4 separate regions of the Homo sapiens genome follow, and all the other regions are linked to region 3. The links are contacts of gene promoters, found by promoter capture Hi-C in human tissues and cell types (Jung and others, 2019). All regions are on one chromosome and are shown on one strand. Each heading gives the region's core, a stretch centred on a gene start or on the middle of the fragment in contact. The rest is flanking DNA. Distances are from core to core; before and after follow the strand shown. Region 1 overlaps KCND2 (potassium voltage-gated channel subfamily D member 2). Region 2 has its middle 47 kb from the start of LINC02476. Region 3 holds the start of KCND2 (potassium voltage-gated channel subfamily D member 2). Region 4 overlaps KCND2 (potassium voltage-gated channel subfamily D member 2).

What was found. The method cuts DNA at HindIII sites, captures the fragments that hold promoters and counts their contacts. A contact is called where the count stands out against the background at its distance.
Region 1: a fragment that was not itself captured here is called in contact with the fragment with the promoter of KCND2 in region 3 in 2 of the 25 tissues and cell types used here (bladder and lymphoblastoid cells).
Region 2: a contact is called between a fragment that was not itself captured here and the fragment with the promoter of KCND2 in region 3, in 4 of the 25 tissues and cell types used here (IMR-90 fibroblasts, dorsolateral prefrontal cortex, lymphoblastoid cells and 1 more).
Region 4: a contact is called between a fragment that was not itself captured here and the fragment with the promoter of KCND2 in region 3, in 3 of the 25 tissues and cell types used here (dorsolateral prefrontal cortex, hippocampus and lymphoblastoid cells).

What each region holds. Positions count from the first base shown.
Region 1 is chr7:120,541,727-120,545,970 of GRCh38, reverse strand. The region is part of intron 1 of KCND2 (potassium voltage-gated channel subfamily D member 2); the gene reads right to left. Among named protein-coding and RNA genes, the nearest start is that of KCND2, 270 kb to the right of the region's middle. The HindIII fragment of the contact is 8,795 bases long and covers 1-4,244 here.
Region 2 is chr7:119,952,244-119,956,296 of GRCh38, reverse strand. No RefSeq gene overlaps it. Among named protein-coding and RNA genes, the nearest start is that of LINC02476, 47 kb to the right of the region's middle. The HindIII fragment of the contact is 5,067 bases long and covers 1-4,053 here.
Region 3 is chr7:120,270,486-120,274,479 of GRCh38, reverse strand. KCND2 (potassium voltage-gated channel subfamily D member 2) reads right to left here and starts at 1,305. Exons shown (of 6, transcript NM_012281.3): 1 at 1-1,305. RefSeq lists an enhancer at 540-609 and silencers at 1,050-1,199, 2,119-2,218. The HindIII fragment of the contact is 5,227 bases long and covers 1-2,354 here.
Region 4 is chr7:120,558,998-120,563,154 of GRCh38, reverse strand. The region is part of intron 1 of KCND2 (potassium voltage-gated channel subfamily D member 2); the gene reads right to left. Among named protein-coding and RNA genes, the nearest start is that of KCND2, 290 kb to the right of the region's middle. The HindIII fragment of the contact is 3,543 bases long and covers 1-3,298 here.

The DNA.
Region 1 (4,244 bases), core at 1,480-3,979, 270 kb before region 3:
TTGGTATGTGATTAGCTCAGAGTTAGGAAGCTACCCATGAATTCACAAATTAATGACCTGAAGATTTAATTCAAATCGGATTTCCTCTTCTTCTTTTTTTTTTGAACAACAGTCACTGAATGAGAAGTTATACCATATTCTTCATTTATTTTCAGAATGGCATTTTCTCTATAACTCCCTCCAAATATTTTTTAAAAATTGCTTCAACACCCACAAATTCTACCTTTTTTTCTAAAGTTATGCTTGTTAGCCCCTACATCACATTTTGTAGTCTACCAACTCTCTGCTGGCTGACCTGCTATCTGCAACAAGAGATACACAGAGTATGCCTAGAATTTAAATCAGATCAATGAGAAAAATTAAATATGAAAAAAGTTTTATTTATATGACTAATTTATCACAGAGATTGTTCCAATTCTTTTCCCTGAACAACTTTCATTGCTGACCTGGGATCTATTTCATCTTCAAGAATAGAGCTTAACAGAATCAGAAAAGAAGATTTTACTCATATAATTTACATAATGAAAACCTTTCTCCAGATATTTAATCCTCATTTTGTTATTTCTGAATAAGGCATACTTTAACACTCAAATAACTCCATATAATTTGAGGCTCTCCAATCTTTTCTATGGGACCTGGCTTAGCATCAATGATATTAGACTGAGAAGACAGCTATCTGCTTTGTTTGATCTTGTACTATCTCATTCTCAGAACCTATCTACTGTAGTGGTAGGCACAAAGAATGGCTGAGATTGATGGGTGGGAAACAGAAGTAATTTCTGCACATGGTGACAGCATACATCAAGTTTCTTTTGCAAGACATTTTTCCTTTGAAATACATGTTTTAGGATTAGAATCTAAATATTTACACCTATGGTAATGTTTGTTTGAATATATAAGAGAAGAAGAGAGTGAAGGAGTTTACAGAAATGTGAAAAGATCTCTAAAGTCATTTTCAGGAGCAAGAAGGAACTACTAGTACTGAATATTCTCAGAGGTTTTCTCTAAGTAGAAGTTAACTTCATTTTTTAATAATCAGACTTGCACTTATTTCCAAGGTAAAATAAGGGAATTCTCAGCAGTCTTAGACTCAGTATCTCTTATTATCTTTTATCACTTAATTTCCCAAGAAAACCAGGTGATTTTGAACTCCCACATTAATGAATTAGCTTTTTCAGTCACTGAAGAATTAAGAAATGAGCAAAAGTCATTGAGAATGAATTTGTGGGAAAACGTGTAATGATTATCAAGGTCAGAAATTATTACCAAGATCAAAGAGCAAAATATGCCATGAGAATTTGATTGTGTTTGAACTATTGTTGCAGTTGTGGCCATGATTCATACATTTTTAAGAATCAACCAATTGCAAGGCCAAGGTCAAGAGTCCACTGCTAATTTTAGGTTAATAATAATCGCTAATGAAAATAATTCCAGAATCCTGTGATTGCATAGTGATTATTAATTTATGAATGGTTATACTTTTAAAATTCTTTCCTTAGATAATTTTCAATTTGGGATAAAATAAATATTTTAGTGATGATAGTACTTCTTATAACTCCATTTTAGGAAATAAAATCTTAGAGTACAGATGTAAATTAAATGACATCTTTGCTCAAAACTATGTACAAGATAAGATTCTATGTCTCACATAATATAATCCGAGCATGAGCCATTTATAATAATTTCTATTAATCCTCTCAGCTGTAATTACCTTTCTGTCTTGCTTCCTGCTGCTCTTAACCTATTATAATTTGCCTTAACATATAACCTCAACTCTTTTAAGAAATTTGTTTTCTACAGTATACTCCTGTCTCAATAAAAACATCTTCATTTTTTCTTGGTAGCCTGTTCAGAGAGGAATAAACATTTTCCCATTAATTCTAATGTTTTTTCTTGTCAGAACTCATAATTCAAGTTGGTCATGGAAGCAGACAGTAATCATCAGTATTTGCTTTCTCAGGAGTCATGTAGTAATTTCCATGTCTATTCTCTCACAACTTTCCAGACTAGTTGGTTAGGGCCATGGTCTATCCCAGTTATACACATAATCAAAAAATTCATAGAAGATAATAATTGCTGAAAATTTGGGTTCTTATCAGAAATGGATGAGAGTCAGTTGTGTCCAATAACAGCTACTATTCAGAAGACAGATTGGCTGAAAACAAATCTCCAAACTTTTTGCAGAGTAGGTGCCCATATGGACAATGCACTCCTTACTTAAAAAGGAAAGATAAAAGGAATAGACTAGTTTTGAAAATCAGTAGGGGTTTCAAATAAAGCACACATTGTACATACATTACAATAGTCTCTGTTTTTTAAAGCTCATAGGTTTAGACATAATTTGTACCACAGTAAGACAATGTTACATATTAGAAAAAAACAAAATTTTGGAATATAATCACCCATTCAAATTTGTATTAAAATAGTATTTTAAGTATTTAACCAGCTGAACAAGCTACTTGACTTCTCAGGAATTCATTTTTAACTACATTTTTCTTATCTGTAAAGTGCAAATGTGACAGAGAAAATCATTCTAAAATATTTTAATTTCTTCTCTTTTTTTTGTGTGTATCTCTTAAGGGGAAAGTTGTTAGTCCTAATTGGAAAATCGACACGCAGTAAGAGGATAACCAAAGAAGACAAAAACAGGCATGCTCTGCTGGGGAAAAATGAGGAAACCCTGGAGGTCATAAAACTGGAGTGAGAAGGAGACAGAAGTAGCCAGAGAGGAAGTGAAAAAAAAGGGCAAAACCATAGGGACTGATGTTGGCATATCAGAGAAAGAATCTGGAAGATAACATCGGTTAGATATATATATATATATTTTGAGGTTATGTTGCTTGGATTTTTAAAGAAATTCCACGAAACATGCAATGGAAACCACTTATCTCCTTAATAAAACCTTAGTGAATGTCTATAATACATGTCAATACTGTATGAGGGCTGTGTGTATGTGTGCATATGTAGGAGTGTGTATTATCTTTTTCTGGATGCAAAATTACCAAAATTGACTTTCCGTAAGAGTAAGTTGGGTCAAATGATCCAGTTAACAAGAATAATCCTTACCTCGCTGGACTGCTATCACAGAACTATTTATTACATTGCCTGACTGATAGCAAGTGAGCAATAAATAGTTGCTATTTGCTACATTGTAATGCAAGGAATTGTTAAAACAGACATCATTTTGGTATTCACCATCTCTTCCAAGCCATGTGCTCAGGTTTCCAAGTTGAAGCAGTGGCTATCAATAGACCATTGGAAAATGTAAGATTGTCTCCTCAATTATTTAGAAATAAAAGAATTCAATTGGTTCCCTGAGGGATCAGGCACTGAGAGGACAAATCTCATAATAAAAGGGAATCAGGTTGACATGAACTATATAGAACATGGATGAATGGTTAGGGCATTTCAATTCGAGCTACTTTAGCATTAGGTCACACTCCTTATGCTGTAGATGTGAGAGAAGTTGGGAGACTTATAAGGGTAATTTTATTATTTTACATGCAATTATGTAGGATCAATACAGTTGAAAACTTATACACTTGGAGAAGAATAAAATAAATCAATTTATTTTATAACTGATTCACCCTAATAAGGTGACATAAAAATGAGCCAGATGAATAGTGTCAAGTGTGATTGTTTCTCCCAAACCCTCTTAAAAAACTTATTCTAAATTACTTAAAAATTATTGACCACTTGAATATGCAATCAAATTACTCAATGTTTGGTAAGCACACACTGCAATACATTTGAATCTAATCCAATATATTGATATTATCATCTGAAAATTGACAGTGACAGTGTCATTAATTTTATTGCCTTTAAACTGGAGGACAAAGTCCTGATGATCTAAAGTTTCAGGTTATATTTACAGCACCATTAATTTACCCACTTGTGTTAAGCAAATACTTGACCCATGTTACTGATATCAAAGTATTTAAAAATATTTAATAAAATAGGTCGTAGAAACATTAAATCAATAAATGACTGTAAAATGGTTTATGTGTTTAATGTAAACATTCAGAACATTATAATGATTTATTCTTCATCATAAAGAAAGATGCTGAATAGAAGATTGAATATGACATAGGTTATAAACTACTTTCAAATGAATTGCCCTGGGTGTCTACAAATTTATTATTAAACATACACATATACATACAAGTTGATGATTAGTGACATAATATGGCCCATTTCTCTTTGATCCTGAGCTGAAGAATTATCACACCATGCTTATGCAATCC
Region 2 (4,053 bases), core at 843-3,342, 320 kb after region 3:
TATAATATAAAAGAGATTGTGCTTTTTCCAGATGCCCTAACAAATAGAAAAGTACAAATAAACTTTACATTGTTCACCTCAACCTAATAACATATCAATAAAAGCATGCATTATTTTTATCAATATAACTGAAAGGCATTATACATAAATATTCAAAAAATACAAACATTTGATTCTAGTGTTTATTTTACCACCAACTTGGAATATACTTGTGAAAGTCAGTTAAATTCTGAATTTTCATTTTGTATCTGAAAGTGACAGAAAATAACATTTTAAGTTTGCATTTTATCATATACTTTCCCATTTATTCCTCAGAATAAAGCAGAAATAAATATTACTACCTTTATTTTAAAGATGAAATCAAAGGCCTCAGAGGTTAATAACTTGCCTGTAATAAGTGAGGAACATGGAATTTAAGTTCAAGCTAAGTCTCCTATATCTGTAGTCTCTAAATTAAATTGTTCTATTCAATTATAAAATCAATAGGTGTAAATATGACATAAATTGGGAAATAAAGAATAGCTATTAAAACTACAATGTTGACAATACCTTTATTACTTAACCTTTCTCTTTGAGGTGAGGCTTAATTGAAACTTATAACACCACCAAGGAAACAGTTACCATATAAAATAAAATTAGCTAACATTTTGGTATGGACCACTTTAAAGAAGCTAACACAACTTAAAAGTAACATAAAATAAAACACATTAATTTCAGTTATTTGTAATGGGCTAAGTGAAGTAAGATAAGGAGAAAAATATGTGATTGGGAGTTAAAATAAGTAGTAGTATGAATATTTCCAGTTAGGGTAAATTCTGTGTTCCAGAATCTTGAAATATTTTATCAAATGTGAATTTCTGTATTGAAGAATTGCCGACATTTGGGCACAGAGTAAGAACTGAGGCCATATCTTCCATTAGGTCTACCAATATTTTTACATGTACCTTTGATTTCGGAATATATAGAAAAATAAAAAAAAACCTTTTTTTCCTTTAGCATATAAAAAAATCTCAAACGCATTCCTTGTATTTTTTAAAATTAAACCTTTAAACTACATGTTTAGTTTAGTGTAGGGCCAGAGGGAAATTTCCTCTCTGCCTACTGAAGGTTTGCTGAAGCTGAACTGACAAAAGGCAGATTAATAGGAGAAAAAGACAAACCAAATTTATTTAATACACATAAGCATGTGGGAATCTCAGGAAAATAATTACCTAATAACTTAATGAGATCTAGATGCTTATATATCCATCTTTATAAGGGAAGGGAAAATGAGGGGTTACAGGAGTCGATTATTTTCAGATGGAATTGAATGAACCCAAAGAACAATAGCCTGGGACAAAGTGTCTCTGAGTTCTATGGGAGGTGGTGGTAAAGGGTGGAACTTCACTGTGAACAAAGGTTGTCCTATGCTTCAGATAAGTCTTCCAGGCAACCACTCAGAGCTACCCTCAGAAGAATTAGTGTAAATTCTTTCTGTGCATGGTGATGTCTCCCAGTCTCTCCTCTTTTCTAATGGTTAAACTTTCCTGGTTATTTGATGAGATACCTGGGGAAGGGGTTTTAAGACGCTAGCATTTCTTTTGGAATGAAGCTTCTCTAGCCAGTTAAGAAAACTCCAGAGCAAATCCTTTCCAGCACTTTGGGAAAGAAAGAAGATCAGAGATACAGGGTGCTGGGGAAAGGTTGTAGAGAGACCTTGGTTTTGGGGCTTATTTCAGATGCCTTTCAATTTTCTTTAATCAAAGGCACTCAGAAAGCCAAAGCATCATATTTTGGGGCATTGTTTTATGAGCCCAACATTAATTAACATAATTTAGTACAAACACAATAACCAATCATTATACATTTAAGCAATCAACTACTAGTGTCAGCTTTTCTAGTTAATATATCTTTAAGCGAATATGAACCATCAGTTGTTGAATTTAACTGTCATATAAGGTGTACATAGTAATTAGTAAAAGTGTTTTCCTACTTTTATAGATCAAGAATCTGAGGCCCTGGAAAATTAAGTTATTTTCCCTAGAACAAATATCTAGTCAAGATTTTAATTATATGGCAATTGAGGTATTTTTTCATTACACAACAGCATTGTCTCCTTTTGCAGAACATTTCTATTTTTCAGTTTTTTTAGTAGAAATTATATCATTCTAAATACAACCTATTTCACTGGGGGCTGTAATTTACATAAATACCATTTTAAATGATATCAAAGTGCACCATATCAGTTAAGAATATGCATTTTTTTGAGTCAGATAGATATAAGATTAAATTCCAGTTTTAATACAGCACAAGGTATGTGATCCTGGGCTAGTTATTTAGTTATTTGCCTTACTTCCAAATTTTTATTGTGATAAAACATATTAACATGAAATTTACCATTTTAACCATACGACAATATACAGTTCTGTGGCATTAAGTACATTCAGATTGTTATACAACTATCCCCACCATTTACCTCTAGAACTTTTTCATCTTGTCCAATTGAAACTCTAACATTAGTAATATGATGTATAATATTATGATGAAGACTAAATGAATCAGAGTCTGCTAAATATACCCTATGCTTATTTCATTTAGTCTCCACAGCAATATGATGACATACATGGTTTTACTAATGTCAGAGTTTTACTTGAAGAAGAGGAAGATGACGTTATTAAATAGGTGGGTCAAATAAGAAAATAAATGAGTGATGGCAAACAAAAACTCAAATATAGCAATGTATACATTGAAAGTATACGTATTCCACTAGAAGACAACAATTTTTATATTTGAATAACAAGAAAACCAAAATGGAACCATACACATACATACAAATCATAAGCTTTAAATATAATGGAAAAAATATTAGATTAAAAAGATCTGAAAATAAAATACCAAATGCTCAATTATAGTATCAGACTGTAACATGTTGAAACTTGCTAGCAGATAGAGCAAGTATTAAAAAGTCAGTAATTATATAGAATATTTAACAACAAAATTCAAAAACAAGACATAGTTTACATATCTAGAATGCTGAAACTAACAACTCTGAATATGCCTTTTACAAGTACACAGAAACACTTACCAAAATGGTCCTTTTTCTGGGAAATAAAATGAGTCTCAAATTATTGAAATGACTTGAATAATTTCACAAGATTCTATAAACAGCTGAATTACAATGAATTTGTATCAACAGTATTGAAAGAACTTCCTCAAATCAATAAGCAAAACAGACAAATACAAAACCCAAATAGAAAAATCGGCAAAGCAAACACTTCACAAATAAACGTAAAAGAAAGATATTCAGCATTATTGGTAATCAAGATATTGCAATTAAAATATTTTATATCATCACATACCATTGTAACTAAGAAACTGAAAAATAGAAATACTATGTCTTGATTTGAAAATGGAGCAGCTGGATCTCTCATATGCGGAGTTGGCCGGGTAGATTGGTATAACCACTTTAGGAAACTGTGTGCCACTTATTTTACTTACTGTAGCTAAACATATGCATACATGTAATGTACATAATTTGCATGAAAATGAATGAAGCATGATTCATTTCCCTGTGCCCTAAAATGTGCAACTTGTTTGGCAGTGTTTCCATCTTACTTTGTCAAAGTGAAAACATTGTTTTTAGGTAATGTAATAAACATATTTATTTAAAACTTGTTTTTGAACATGTTGTTTTTGAGAAGATTTTAAAAGTGAAAAACATGTTTTTACCTGGTGTAAACAAGAGGTTTACACTGGAAAGAAAGCTTGAGGAAGCAGTAATAAGGCTCTATGCAATGATCCCTCGCTCCTAAAACCCCCCAGGCCCTTAGTAAAGGTTTTAACACTAGCCTGGTCAGTCATACTGTCACTGAGAATCAAGCACCAAACATTAATTTCTCTATGTGTCTCATGAAGAATCAGATATTCTGCAAATGGTAAAATGCTAACTGTAAATCTATTTCAATGTCCTTTTCAGTCAGGAAAAAGAAAATATTGGTAGTGGGGTTCAGTATTATTTCTGTTGTGATTCAAAGGTATCTGTGATTCAAAGGCAGTGAGAGGATGACCACTCCT
Region 3 (3,994 bases), core at 56-2,555:
AAGTCACAGTTCTCAGAAGGGCAACTTTCCCTCCAAGACAGGTATTTGGAATAATGGCAACAAAATACAACGTCCTAACAATCACCCTCAACAGAACCCAGCCAAATCTCTTCCTGCAGGTGGGCTAGGCCACCCTCTGGCACAAATAAGCACACAGGTGCAGCCGTTTCTTCAAACAGGTGTTTTTGATTTCTCCCCGGCACAGTCTGGATAATATAGGGTCAGTATGTGGAGTGTAGGATAGAGAAGACGAACGAGAGTCACCCAATAGAATTCTTTCGACGAATTAGGGAACCCTTACACCTACCCTTCTCACTCTTTCAAACCTTCCTTTCCAAGTAGCCCTTCCCGCCAAAGGAGTCTCAAAAAGGCGACCTGTTGTTGTAGCTCAGGAGATGCGGTCACAGCCGCTGCCCCACGTCTCTCTTTGGGGGTCCAGCTGCTGCTGCCTCTACTCCTCGGGCTGTATTTGCAGAGATGGAGGTGATGTGCAGTGGTTACGGTGGGGGGCGTTAATAGAGATTCTCCTCCCCCACGTCTACAAACACCCTCTGTGTCTGCCAAAAGCGTTCGCCCAATCGCCCCTTCACTCTCTTTTCAAGTTCAGCTCAGGTGCAGTGTGACAGTTACAGAGCTCAGGAGCTGGCAGCCGCCGCCGCCGTGGCGGCAGCAGCATCTGCTTCCGCGCAGAACGCGCCGCTCCCGCGGTACATACCTGGCCAAGTGCGCGCCGGGGCTTAGTTGCATAGAGACTTTCTCCTCGCCGTGCACCCGGAAAGGGAAGAGGAGAGAAAGCAGCTCGCGAGCAGCCGAATCCGATGCGCCGAGAGAGCATAAATAAAGCTCAAGCGAGCTCTTCTTTCCCTTCCCCCATCCCTCCGTGCCTCCCTCCTCCTTTTCACCTTCCAAAAGCCAGGCGCAGGCGAGCAGAGCAGCAGCAACAAGTTCAAAAGGTGCGGGGGAGGCGAGAACGGAGGGGACTCGCTCCTGCCAACTTACTGCGGGGCCACTGTCGCGGGAGCCTGGCCAGCGCGGTGCGGGGCTGCGGGGCGGCGGGGCTGCGGGGCGGCCGGGCGGGCGGCGTTGGCGCGGTGGGGCCGGGGCCGGGGCCGGCACGGGCTCTCGTCCGAGCGCGGAGGCAGAAGGCGCTCGGCAGCGCGGGGGCGCGGGAGGGCTGCTAGCTGCTTCCCCGCCAGTGGGTGGTCCTGCATCTCCCCGGGCTCCCCGCGCTGCTCTGCTAGTGCGATCAATAAATAAGGAGAAAATAAATAAATAACCGCGCGCACGCCCCGCCACGCAGGTTAGGAAAGGCGTCTCCTGCCTTTCCCTCGGCTTGACCTTTCTCCGCCCCCGCCCCCTCGGGCTCCTCTCGCTCCACCCCAGCCACCCACCAACCCCGGCGCAAAATGTCACCGAGGGAGAGCATCCAGGTGGATCTGCTGGGGAGAAAAGCGAGCCTCGGATGAACAAAGGGAAGCTTCACGTGCTGGGCTGCGGTGGTTTGGTGGAGGAGAGGAGAAAGGGGACCCGTGCCTTGCTTCTGCCTCTCGAGTCCCGGTTCAAGGCGAGCGTGGGAAAATGGGGGGAAAGAGAGCGAGAGAAGCTGGGAAGGAGGGTGAGCGGAGCGGAATGCGCAGGAATTGGTTGTCTTCTGGGGGCGACTGGAAGGCAAGACCCGCAAAGCTCCGACGCGGAATTTTTAAGTGCATTTCCTCTTTCTGTTTTTATTTATTTTCAAAACCAGATTGTTAACGTTGCAGGGATTGATATGCCATCTGTCCAACTTGCCAAAAAATCAGAGACTCTCCTCGATCGAGGTCTTGACACAACTCCTTTTCCCGTCCTTTACGAATAACAGGGATGTGGAGCCCTTTTCTAAATGTCATCGTCAAGGGGCGTGCGTCTCTGAAAGTTTGCGTCCCCTTCATCCTCTCTGCGCATCACTGCGCATATTTAAAATAGTTAAAAGAGTTAAAGGTGTTCGTATGAGGGGTTACTGAGGTAGAGAGACACAGGAAAATTGTCGCTACCAACCTTTTTGTTTTTCGCGTACCCCGCCCCCGAGTCATTAGGAATCATCCTTAAAACCAAACGTAACACATACAAGCCACTAGATGGCGTGGATGGCGAGAAGTTAAATCTGCACCTAAGGTTTGGATGCTTTAGGAAGGTGAAGGATCAAAATTAACTGGTCCAACAGAGAGTCAGATCACATAAACATCCCCAAACCCCTTCGCTGCCACCCACCTTTTTTGTGTTTATGTGACATATACTACTTAGGCTTGAGTCTGCATTTGGATAGTTGTGGGATGAGATGTGGAGAGTTTCCTTTTGAAATTCCTTTGAAAATTAAATCTAGATTACTGAATCATCATCATCATAGTAATTAAGATCTTTGGCAATAATGAGGCTTCATCTGTATTGATGAAGAATAGTAGCCTAATTTCTACCTAAAAATTACTTTTCATGGCTTGGTTTGACTGCCCTTGGTTTGTAAAATAAGTGGACTGTGTGTTGTACTTTACGGAAATTGACTTTTAAGCCCTAGAGATTACAGGCATGATGTGTCAACCTTGAAAATTTGAAATGGGATACGTCAAAGAAAATATATAAACTAAAAAATGAGTATAGAAAATAACCAGAGAATTTAAAATATCCTTATCATGTACAGGATTTTCTGTAGAGATAAAAGGGTATTTTTTGTTTGTTTATTTGTTTACAGAATAGAGATTTAAGGAATCCTGTGTCAGTAGTAATGAAGTCAGAGCTAATGCACCATTTAAGTTTGAGGACAAGGAACTGAAGACACCTGCTCTTTATCTATTTGTTTAAGTGAAAGATGCTTGTTAACCAATCTATATAGCCTGCATACCTGAAAACAAACACACAAGCATGTTACCTGGAAAATGGAAATGAGGGGCTTACTACCAATTAATATAAGAAAACCAACCCCTCGTTAGTCCAAACAGTAAGGTGGCACTATGACAGGTGCTGGGCATGGAATCCAGAGGGTGGAGCGCCATGAATATTTAATCAATGCCAATAATGGCATGCTTTCCTGTAAAGATGGGGCGAGGAACCTAAATAGAGCCTTTAAAACTGTGTGGGAAACTGAATGCTTACAAATGTAAAAGTAGGAGCTTAACTCACAAAAGCCCCAAAGAAGCAAGAACATAATATGTACAGTTTTTAAGAAGGTACTGGGATCTGCCCTCCTGCATCTTCAACAAGCTTCTTGATATAGTGGAAAGAATGTGGGCTGAGAACTTAAACACATCTAAATTCAAAATCTTGCTTAAGAAATTACTTACTGGCTTTGTTTCATTTGGCAAATTACTTCTATGATTAGAAATTATAGATAATGAAATTTAACTTTTCAGGCCTGTCGTGAAGATGAAACAGGATCATACTTCTGAACACCAGTGAAATACTTAGCACATGAAGTGTACTCAATATTGGTTCTTTTTTATTGTAATGCATAATGCTAATGCAATTCATTTTATCCAGCCCGTATTTGGAATTCCCTTAGATACTTTCCATAGTTATGTATTGCTTAATGACAGGGATACATTCTGAGAAATGTGTCTTTAGGAGATTTCATCACTGTCTGAATATCATAGAGCGTACTTACACAAACTTAGGTGGTATAGCCTACTACACACCTATGCTATATGGTACAGCCTATTGCTCCTAGACTACAAACCTGCCATCATGTTACTGTACTGAACACTGTAAGCAATTTGTAACACAGTGGCAAGTATTTGAACCTCTAAACATATATATACACAGAAAAGTTGCAGTAAAAATACAGTATAAAATATTTTTAAGAACGGTACACCTTTATTTGGCACTTCCTATGAATGGAGCTTACAGAACTGGAAGTTTCTCTGGGTGATCAGTGAGTAAGTGGTGAATGAATGTGAAGGCATAGCACATTACTGTACACTTCTGTAGACTTTATAAACACTGTATATTTAGGCTATGCTAAATTTAT
Region 4 (4,157 bases), core at 278-2,777, 290 kb before region 3:
TGTGTCAGAATCCTATTTTAGAAGAAACGTTAATAACATTAGAACCTCTAACTATGATAAACAAGATATGGCTTAATCAGGGTCTAAAATAAACCAAGAATATACAAATTCCATATTGCATGACATTTCTAATCCAAATTTAATTGTATTGCAGATAGATTGAAGCATTTCTTTTTCTAAATATTATTGCAGCTGCCAAATATCTTTTCAAAAAATACTTTACCTTATATAATTTATTAATGAAATATGCTCTCTTTCATTATCTTATAGTAATTTGGCATATTATCTTTGTTTAACAAAAATTCATTTCTGAACTGTGTCTGTATTTGCTTATTATTGACCTTTAGAGCCAAGTGCAGTTTCTGGTGCTATGTACATTTACTAAAATATATCTGAGTTTTATTTTATGGAATTAATCTTAGGGTTTGCAACATACTTTTTTAAATGTCTCAAATGTTGGCAAATAATTTCCCCTTAAGAGACTTTTTTGTTTGTGAATACAATTCAAGTTTATCATTTAAAAGTGAGATATCAACTTGATGCAGTCTCTTTTATACAAACATGAAGATGTGATTATTCAGAAAAAAAAATCCTTTTCTGCTTCCCTTCACTCTTATTTTTTTCACTTGGTAATAAAGTTTCTTCAAAGGAGGTCATCTTGTCACTAACTCCTGACCACCTCAAAATCATGCTTCTACATACCACAGAATAGCTTTTTACTCTTTTGCTGGAATAACTTCCTTGTTATCAACTCCCAATGTTTAGTCCTTGTCTTTCTTGAATTCTCTTTAAAGTCAATACCGTGAAACATGCCCTTGTTCTTGAATTCCTCATATAACGTTCTCATGTTTTATTATTTTTTCCTTTTGACATCTTTATCTCAGTTAATTTTGTTGTCTTATTTTCTGCTATATTTCCTTAAATGTTGGTGTTTGTACTTCAGGGAACCCCATTTCTCACTCAATATGCTCTCTGAGGAAACTTGGCCATATTCATATTTTTAACTGCTACCTCTTGTCCTCTTGCGCTTATAACTTTCAAAGAGATGTCTGCAGCCTTGATGAATATTTACAAATGCTGACTCATTAACAGATACGTTGAATCTGTCCAAATAAAGAAACTGACCATCTTTTTCCTTTCCTCATTACCAACTTCTACTCCTTCATACCCAATTTATTTCAGAAATACTGTTATCTGCTTAGACTCTCAAGTCTTCATAAGTAGTCTATCAAAATCAGATAGCGGCCGGGTGCAGTGGCGAATGCCTGTAATCCCAGCACTTTGGGAGGCCGAGGCAGGTGGATCACCTGAGGTAAGGAGTTCGCGGCCAGCCTGACTAACATGGTGAAGCCCCGTCTCTACTAAATACAAAAAAATTAGTCAGATGTGGTGGCACATGCCTGTAATCCTAGCTACTTGTGAGGCTGGGACAGCAGAATCGCTTGTACCTGGGAGGCGAAGGATGCAGTGAGCCGAGATTGTGCCATTTCACTCCAGCCTGGGCAACAAGAGCAAAACTCCATCTCAAAAAAAAAAAAAAAAAAAAAAAAAAAAAATCAGGTAGCTTAATGTTTAAGAATGTGGACTCTATAGTTGATCTTCCTGGGTTTATAGCCCAGCCTTGTAACTTTGGGCAAGTTTTTCAACCTTTCTGAATCTGTTTCCTCACCTGTAAAATACAGATGACAATAGTTATACCTCATAGGATTGGTTTGAGGATTAGTTTTGATAAAGACTTAGATCAGTGCCTAATATAGTATATGTAAATTATTATTAATAACCTTCTCCTTCTCTGCTGTCACTTGCATAGCTTATATCTAATCAATCTTCCAATTTTATTTACCATATTTTCTACTCATCTCTCCTGTCATCTGTCTTTACTTTTCCTGCTGTCCATAAGAACAAGAACATACCATCTTTTACTTCTTTATTTGCAGTGCTGAATGCAGAGTAAGCTCTCAATGCTGTTAAGTCATAAATAAATTAATGGATTAATGTCATAAAATCTGGTTCTGAAAAGGTGACTTAAAACATTTTGCAAATTACTAGACTGTTTCTATATCCTCTTGAGGTAACTGTTTCAAAAGATTGATCGTTTGATCACAAACATATTGGTATATTTGTTAATTAGTTTTACTGTTTGCAAAATCGCAGTAATGTGACAGTACTAATGGCTAACTTACAGACTAATCAACATTCAGTATAACAATTGGACATTTTGGTACCTTGGTCAAATTTTTGTAGCATTGAGCTAGTCACATACAACTTCTCTGAATTCGATTTTCTTCTCTAAAATTAGCAAACTGGATTAGAATTGTCTCGATAATCTTTTAACATTTATGATTCCAATAAATTTGAGCAATTACTCAGTGCTTAAAATGTGAGACACTGAGAGGAACACATGGTGTAGAAAATTTCAAGCAGGAGAATACTGGACTGATAACCTTGGTTTCCCTGCCTGCTGCTTCATTCGATGAGACAGGCCGGTAGACAGAATTTTATGGAAGGTAGCTCTTTAAATTGAATTCTGCAAGATTTCTCCTTTCTTAGCATTCATTTGCATCTGTTTCAAACACGAAACCTTTCTGTCCAAAAGTGCAAAAAATTTTAGCTTAAGCTGATTATCACATTAAAGTGTTGAACTTGAGCCCAAGAAGGGCTCCATAGAAACTGAATCCCTATCATTTAAGATGATATTGGCTCTTAAAAATGACAAGTTCTACATTTTACTGTCGCTTTTCCGTCTGATTATTTCATTGGAGGATTTTTTAAGGCAAAATATTTTACATCAAATTTGATTCATCATTCCACTTCAAGTAGCAAGTCTTAAATGTAGCCTTTTAAAACTACTGAATAGTTAAAATTTCTTCTGCTGATTAATATACAGCAAGCTTTTGTGTAATAAAAATGAACTGCAAAAATGATTTCTGGGACTTTGGAAAAATATTTTTCTGTGGAAACTAAGCAGTGTTTATATCAATGTTGAATTACTTATGAGTTAGTCATATTAATGCTAAATTTTAACTGAGAACGACCCAACAATTTTGGCCAACATGCTGTTTGCTTAAAATTATTATTTTATGAAAAACATTCACATTATGATTTCAGTAGAGAAATAGGAAAGTCATTCCAGTTCTACCACAGTGTATAGAAACTTGTTTTGAATACAACATGAAATCATCTATTTTACGTTAGCATTGTCCTTCATCTGAGAACTTTCTGCTCCAAAGGACGGTGGATTTCTCACAATATGTCCTTAGGAAATCAAAGTTACTATTCATTAAGGCCTTGCTTAATTTTCTCTTGGTTAAGAGAAAATCAATTCATGAACTCACATTCTGATGCAGAAGACTTATGTATCATGTTTCAAAGATCACATTTAACTAAAGCCAAACTCTAGTGTATGGCAGCTCACTGTATCATAGACTGGAATCTGCCCTGTGCTCAAAAGCATAAACTATTATATTGTAATAATTATCCAATAGAATTAGAATTTCAAACATGCTGTTTCATTTCCTCCTGAGTATAAATTGCTGTTCCCATCAGGCTATTTTCCTAATTTTTTAATTCAGAAAATATTGTTAAAACCAGATACCAAATGATCATAGAACTGCCTCTAGCATAAATCCTATCCTCTAGTTGGTGGCTAATATTCAGCCCTGAGTCTCTGCCTTTCCATTTTCTACCTGGATGATCTTCAGAAGCTTCGCTCATCTGCCTAAGCCTTTGTGTTCTCATCTGCAGAATGAGAAGAACTGACTACTCTGCAAGTGTAGTTGTTGACCACTTGGAATTGTCTGGTAGATGAAAAGTGAGATTGTGTGTGCACAATGCCTGGCAAATACAACACACTCGGCTAATTCTATCTATTATCAATGGTCGTAGTTAAATGGTTATCACCATGAAAGTCATTTGAAAAATTATTAGAAAATACAAGTTTTGCTTGTGGTAGTGGTATGATTATCATTTCATCAAAGAACACAGTTATGCAGTTAGAGCTAATCATATTCTCATAAAAGGTGCTTCAACTTCTGAGGGATGTATTAACATTTCCAATTTTTTTCAACCACTGCTTAAGTCTGCTTGTCAGTAATGCACATACATGCACGTACACATACACACACACATACACACACAGAAACACACACACACACACA